2 separate regions of the Homo sapiens genome follow, and region 1 is linked to region 2. Evidence: promoter capture Hi-C in human tissues and cell types (Jung and others, 2019). All regions are on one chromosome and are shown on one strand. The core of a region is centred on a gene start or on the middle of the fragment in contact, and the rest is flanking DNA. Distances in the headings are between cores, read along the strand shown. Region 1 has its middle 61 kb from the start of MIR4277. Region 2 holds the start of PDCD6 (programmed cell death 6).

Region 1 (3,121 bases), core at 25-2,524, 1.4 Mb after region 2:
CAATGGCAGCAAAAGCCAAAATTGACAAATGGGATCTAATTAAACTAAAGAGCTTCTGCACAGCAAAAGAAACTACCATCAGAGTGAACAGGCAACCTACAGAATGGGAGAAAATTTTTGCAATCTCATCTGACAAAGGACTAATATCCAGAATCTACAAAGGACTCAAACAAATTTACAAGACAAAAACAACCCCATCAAAAAGTGGGCAAAGGATATGAACAGACATTTCTCAAAAGAAGACATTTATGCAGCCAACAGACACGTGAAAAAATGCTCTTCATCACTGGCCATCAGAGAAATGCAAATCAAAACCACAATGAGATACCATCTCACACCAGTTAGAATGGCGATCATTAAAAAGTCAGGAAACAACAGGTGCTGGAGAGGATGTGGAGAAATAGGAACACTTTGACACTGTTGGTGGGACTGTAAACTAGTTCAACCATTGTGGAAGTCAGTGTGGCGATTCCTCAGGGATCTAGAACTGGAAATACCATTTGACCCCACCATCCCATGACTGGGTATATACCCAAAGGACTATAAATCATGCTGCTATAAAGACACATGCACACGTATGTGTATTGCAGCACTACTCACAATAGCAAAGACTTGGAACCAATCCAAATGTCCATCAATGATAGACTGGATTAAGAAAATGTGGCACATATACACCATGGAATACTATGCAGCCATAAAAAATGATGAGTTTATGTCCTTTGTAGGGACATGGATGAAGCTGGAAACCATCATTCTCAGCAAACTATCGCAAGGACAAAAACCCAAACACTGCATGTTCTCACTCACAGGTGGGAATTGAACAATGAGAACACTTGGACACAGGAAGGGGAGCATCACACACCAGGGCCTGTTGTGGGGTGGGGGGAGAGGGGAGGGATAGCATTAGGAGATATACCTAATGTAAATGACGAGTTAATGGGTGCAGCACACCAACATGGCACATGTATACCTATGTAACAAACCTGCACGTTGTGCACATGTACCCTAGAACTTAAAGTATAGTAATAATAATGATAATAAAAATCATGTTTACAAGCAAAAGCCACCCTCCAACCTTCTGTCATAGGCGTTTTAATCGTGTGAGGTTTCTAGCCCACGGGCGCCTCTCTCCAGCCCATGGCTCTCTGAGGCAGAAGCAGCCTTCCACTTTCCAAGGTAATGGCACCACCACCCTGCTTGGTGCCCACCAGCATCTCCCTGTCACTCGAAAGACAGTGTCCAAACCCCTGCCTGTTACCCCAGGCCCTGTGGGTCTATCCCGGCAGCTCACCAGCTGTGGCCTCCTCAGACAGCCTCCTTTCCCCCAAATCCCAGCCTCAGTCCCTCGGATGCTTCCAGGTGGGAAGGCTCTGGCAGGCTCCAGGAGGAGCAGATAGAACTTGGGTGATCAGCCACCGGGCGTGGTGGCTCATGCCTGTAATCTCAGCACTGTGGGAATCCGAGGCGAGCAGATCACTTGAGATCAGGAGTTTGAGACCAGCCTGGCCGACATGGCGAACCCTGTCTCTACCAAAAATACAAAAAAAAAAAAAAAAAAAAAATTAGCTGGGCGTGGTGGCCTGCACCTGTAATCCCAGCTACTTGGGAGGCTGAGGCATGAGAATCACTTGAACCCAGCAGGCAGAGGTTGCAGTGAACTGGGATTGCACCACTGCACTCCAGCCTGGGTGACAGACTGAGACTGTCTCAAAAATAAAAGGTGATCAGGAAGTTCTTGTTTTTGCTTTTTGTTTTTCCCCCTGTGGAATCCTTTGCTCTGCAAAACAGGTGAGCGTTTCTTTGGTGGGGCGCTCAGCTCCCCCACCCCCCCCAGAACTGCTGATCCCACCCTCATGTCTGCATTCTTGAGGTGGTCCTGAGACGTGGCTTTGAAAAACACTGCTTGGGCTGGGTGCAGTGGCTCATGCCTGTAATCCCAGCACTTTGGGAGGCCAAGGTGGGAGGACTACCTGAGGTCAGGAGTTCAAGACCAGGCTGGTCAACATGGTGGAACCCTGTCTCTACTAAAAATACAAAAATTAGCTGGGCGTTGTGGTGCATGCCTGTAATCCCAGCTACTTGGGAGGCTGAGGCAGGAGTATCGCTTGAACCCAGGAGGCAAAGGTTGCAGTGAGCCAGGATTACACCACTGCACTCCAGCCTGGGCAACAGAGTGAGACTCCATCTCAAAAAAAAAGGAAAGAAAAAGAGAAACACTGCTTGAAACAAGAAAGGAACACAAAGATTAAAAGCTTAGAATTTTCCATAAACCTTTTGGCCACTTATATGTCTTCTGTTGAGAAATGATCTTTTGTCTACTTTCTATGGGATTATTTATTTATCTATTTTTTTCTGTTGTTTGATTTCCTTGTGTATTCTGGATATTGGCCCCAAAAAGCAAGCGAAAAAATGCTCAACATCATGAATCATTGGGGAAATGCACATCAAAACCACAATGAGGTATCATCTACCCCAGTTCAGATGGCTTTAATTAAAAACAAAAACCATAACAAATGCTGGCGAGGATGTGGAGAAAGGGGAACCATACACACTGTAGGTGGGAATGTAAATGAGTACAGCCGCTATGGACAACAGGATTGAGTTCTTAAAAAATTAAAAATAGAGCTACCCTATGATCCAGCCATCCCCGCTGATGGGTATTTATCCAAAGGAAAGGGAATCCTGTGTGAAAGGGAATCTGGGCCCCCCTGTTTACTGCAGCACTGTTCACAATGGCAAAGATATGGAATCAACCTAGGTGCCTATCAATGGATGAATGGATACAGAACACGTGATATCTATTCGCGATGGAATACTCTGCAGCCATACACAAGAATGAAATCATGTCGTCTGCAACAACATGGATGGAATTGAAGGCTGTCATGTTAAGGGAAGTAAGCCGGGGTAGAAAGACAAATGTACCATGTTCTCACTCATTTGTGGGCACTGAAAGAGTGGCTCTCACAGAGGCAGAGAGTTGGCTGGTGGTTCCCAGAGGCTGGGCAGGGTGTGTGGGTGAGAGGCAGACAGAAAGTGAGGCTGGTTACGGGGCACAAACATGCAGTCAGGGGAAGGAGTAAGTTCCAATGTTCCATAGAACAGTTCACAGACCAAAGGCAAC
Region 2 (3,017 bases), core at 1-2,500:
CCCAAAGCTGGGCACTTCCCAATTCCGGGATTTGTGCTACAGGCACTCCAGGCTCCACCTTAGAACTGTGTCCAGCACGAAGGCAGTGCTGTCTTGCGGGAGGCAGGGCTGCACCACCACCGGGGTGTGAAGGGGCCCAGCAGGCAGGGGTGTGAAGGGGCCCAGCAGTGTTTCCAGCTGCACGGGGTCAGGGGCCGCGCTGATGCAGAGCACGGGGGCGCAGGTTAAACCTAAAGGAGGGAAGCTTTTGGGGGCGGAACAGACAACCGAGAATGCTGCACACTGCCTTTCCCACCCGAATTGTGTTTTGACTTTTTTTTTTTTTTTTTTTTGAGACAGAGTTTTGCACTTGTTGCCCAGGCCTGGAGTGCAATGGCCCGATCTCGGATCACTGCAACCTCCTCCTCCCGGTTTCAAGCAATTCTCCTGCCTCAGCCTCCCGAGTAGCTGGGATTACAGGTGTGCACCATCACGCCCGGTTAGTTTTGTATTTTTAGTAGATACGGGGTGTCTCCCAATTGGCCAAGGCTGGTCTCGAACTCCCGACTTCAGGTAATCCACTGGCCTTGGCCTCCCAAAGTGCTGGGATTACAGGCGTGAGCCACCGCGCCCGGCCTGCTTTTGCTTTCTTTTTTTTTTTTTTTTTTTTGGCAGAGTCTCGCTGTCCACCCCTGTAGTGCAGTGAGCTCGGCTCCCTGCGGCCTTGACCTCCCGGGCTCAGGCAATCCTCCCGCCTCAGCCCACGGAGTAGATGGGACCACAGGAGCCCACCACGCCCGACTACTTTTTGTAATTTTTGTAGGGATGGGGTCTATCCATGCTGCCCAGGCTGGTCCGAACTGCTGGGCTCAAGAGCTCCGCCCGCCTCCGCCTCCCAAAGGGCAGGGATCACAGGTGTGAGCTACCGCGCCCCGCCCAGAGTTTCCGACTGTTAGCAAATCACATTCACCTCAAAACTATTTATACAAGAACTGAAAGGCAAACTAAGTCCGTGCTCCATCACTTCCTGTCCCAGGTCGCGGGGCCGGACATTTTCTCCAAGCGCTTTCCTGGCACAGCGCGCAGGCGGCCTGCGCCAAAGCTCTGGCTTCCTCCAGGCGCCCAGACCCCGCCCTCCCCGCAGGCGCCAGGGCGTTGCCTGGCAACTTAGCTGCGAGGGGATTGGCTGCGCGGGACCCCGTGACCATCCCGGAGACCACGCATTTCCTGCGCCCCCGGAAGTGGTGATAATGCCAGGCCCTGCCCCCGGCAGAGGCGGAAGCGGAGTCGGCCTGAGAGGTCTCTCGTCGCTGCAGGCGCCTCAGCCCAGCCGCGTGCCTTGGCCCATGGCCGCCTACTCTTACCGCCCCGGCCCTGGGGCCGGCCCTGGGCCTGCTGCAGGCGCGGCGCTGCCGGACCAGAGCTTCCTGTGGAACGTTTTCCAGAGGTGCGGCCTGGCACCGCCCGGGCACCTCCCGCCTCCGCCGCGGCGGCCCCGACCCCTGTCCCGACTCCCCCGACCAACCCCGTTCCCTGCCGGTTCTACTGCGGCCTCCTCCGTCCCCTGTCGGGTCCCCCGCGGCCCCCTCCCGTCCCCTGCCGCCGCCCCCGACCCCTGCCCCAGCCGACGCGGCCGCCCCCGTCCCCTGGCGGGTCCCCCGCGGTCTCCCCCGTCCGCTGCCCGGTCTCCTGGGGCCGCCCCTGCCTCCTGCCCGGTCCCTGTCCTGTGCGTCGGGCCCTTCCCAAGATGCAGAGTGCGCCACTGCAGACCCGAGGTCGCGGCCACCGGCTCCTGGGCTAGGCCCTTTTTCTCGCCTCAAGAGCCGCCAGGTGGAGGGTCTCCAGGGTGCTTGTTTGGGGAAAGCGGAAACAGACTGCCTGGGCGCTGTTAAAATGTCAGCAGCCAAGGAAGAAGCAGCGACCTGGCGTCTGCTCGGGCCAGGTGACCTTTATGGCGGCGCCTTCTGTCCCTGGTCGCTTTTCCACCGAATGTCCGAAACTGTAGTGACTGATGGCCAGGGAATGGCTTAGTTATCTGAGGGAATCTTGTCTTGTCTGTGAAAAAGGGAAACGGGTGCAAATGGGAATTCAGACAGGCCAGGAGAGGAAGGAAGGGAAGGATTGAGGTGAAGATGATTGTCCTCTTAGGGGAAGACCACACTGGACGTCGGCTCCTGGGGCACTTCCTTGATTCCGCTGTACTCCTCAGCGGGACGGGAGAGGCGGAGGTTCCAGGAGGGAGCCTTCCAGAGTCGGTGCAGGGTTGACAGAAGACGTTTGTTTTGCTTTTCCTGAACTTTCGATCGCCAGCTTATTTGGTCTTCTTGATGTTATAGGGTCGATAAAGACAGGAGTGGAGTGATATCAGACACCGAGCTTCAGCAAGCTCTCTCCAACGGTGAGTGGGCCAGTGGGAACTGGGTCTCCGGACCAAGAAGCCGCGAGCCTGCCCTGTTCACAGTGGATAACTTTCTGAAGTTGTTTTTCCAAGGACAAAGGAATCATTAGGACAAATTGTTATTACTGCTTCGTAGTGGAGATGCTTCTGGTTTATTTTGTGGCTACCGCTGTTACTGCTTGGAGTGCCTCACCGAGCCAGCTAACAACTGCGTGCGTGAGCACAGGGAAAGGCTTCTTGAGAAATGAAAACTAGATTGTAGGTTTAGGAGGGGAATAGGAAGCTTAGCTCTGTACAGCCGAAAGCCTTTTGGTAAGTTGGAGGTCCTTGAATTTCCTGGGTGACTGCATCTTGGTGACTTCTCTGAATAGACCTTCGAGGGCACTGGGGGGTGATTGTTGGAGGGCTTGGGGAGCTCAGGCAGCCCTTGTATGGGAATGTGGCTGTTACAGGAACTGCAGAAACTGGGACTGGGTTCCTGGGGAAAGGATTGGGGGTGTTGGAGGCGCTGGCCAGGGGATTATGGGGAGGTGTTCTTATCAGTGTGCGAATACTGGGCGTTCAGGCAGCGGGAAATCCGGGTCCTTGCGTGTTGTGAGCTCCCTGGAATTACGTTCTTGCCAGTTTCAGCTCAGTTGAT

Evidence for each region. Contacts are between HindIII fragments. The study calls those that stand out against the background at their distance.
Region 1: a fragment that was not itself captured here is called in contact with the fragment with the promoter of PDCD6 in region 2 in 1 of the 25 tissues and cell types used here (heart right ventricle).

What each region holds. Positions count from the first base shown.
Region 1 is chr5:1,646,552-1,649,672 of GRCh38, forward strand. No RefSeq gene overlaps it. Among named protein-coding and RNA genes, the nearest start is that of MIR4277, 61 kb to the right of the region's middle. The HindIII fragment of the contact is 6,612 bases long and covers 1-3,121 here.
Region 2 is chr5:270,396-273,412 of GRCh38, forward strand. PDCD6 (programmed cell death 6) reads left to right here and starts at 1,251. Exons shown (of 6, transcript NM_013232.4): 1 at 1,251-1,426; 2 at 2,316-2,377. The coding sequence starts at 1,326. PDCD6-DT (PDCD6 divergent transcript) reads right to left here and starts at 1,129. Exons shown (of 2, transcript NR_104613.1): 1 at 950-1,129. PDCD6-AHRR (PDCD6-AHRR readthrough (NMD candidate)) reads left to right here and starts at 1,251. Exons shown (of 13, transcript NR_165163.2): 1 at 1,251-1,426; 2 at 2,316-2,377. RefSeq lists enhancers at 1-292, 954-1,043 and a silencer at 1,334-1,543. The HindIII fragment of the contact is 6,729 bases long and covers 1-3,017 here.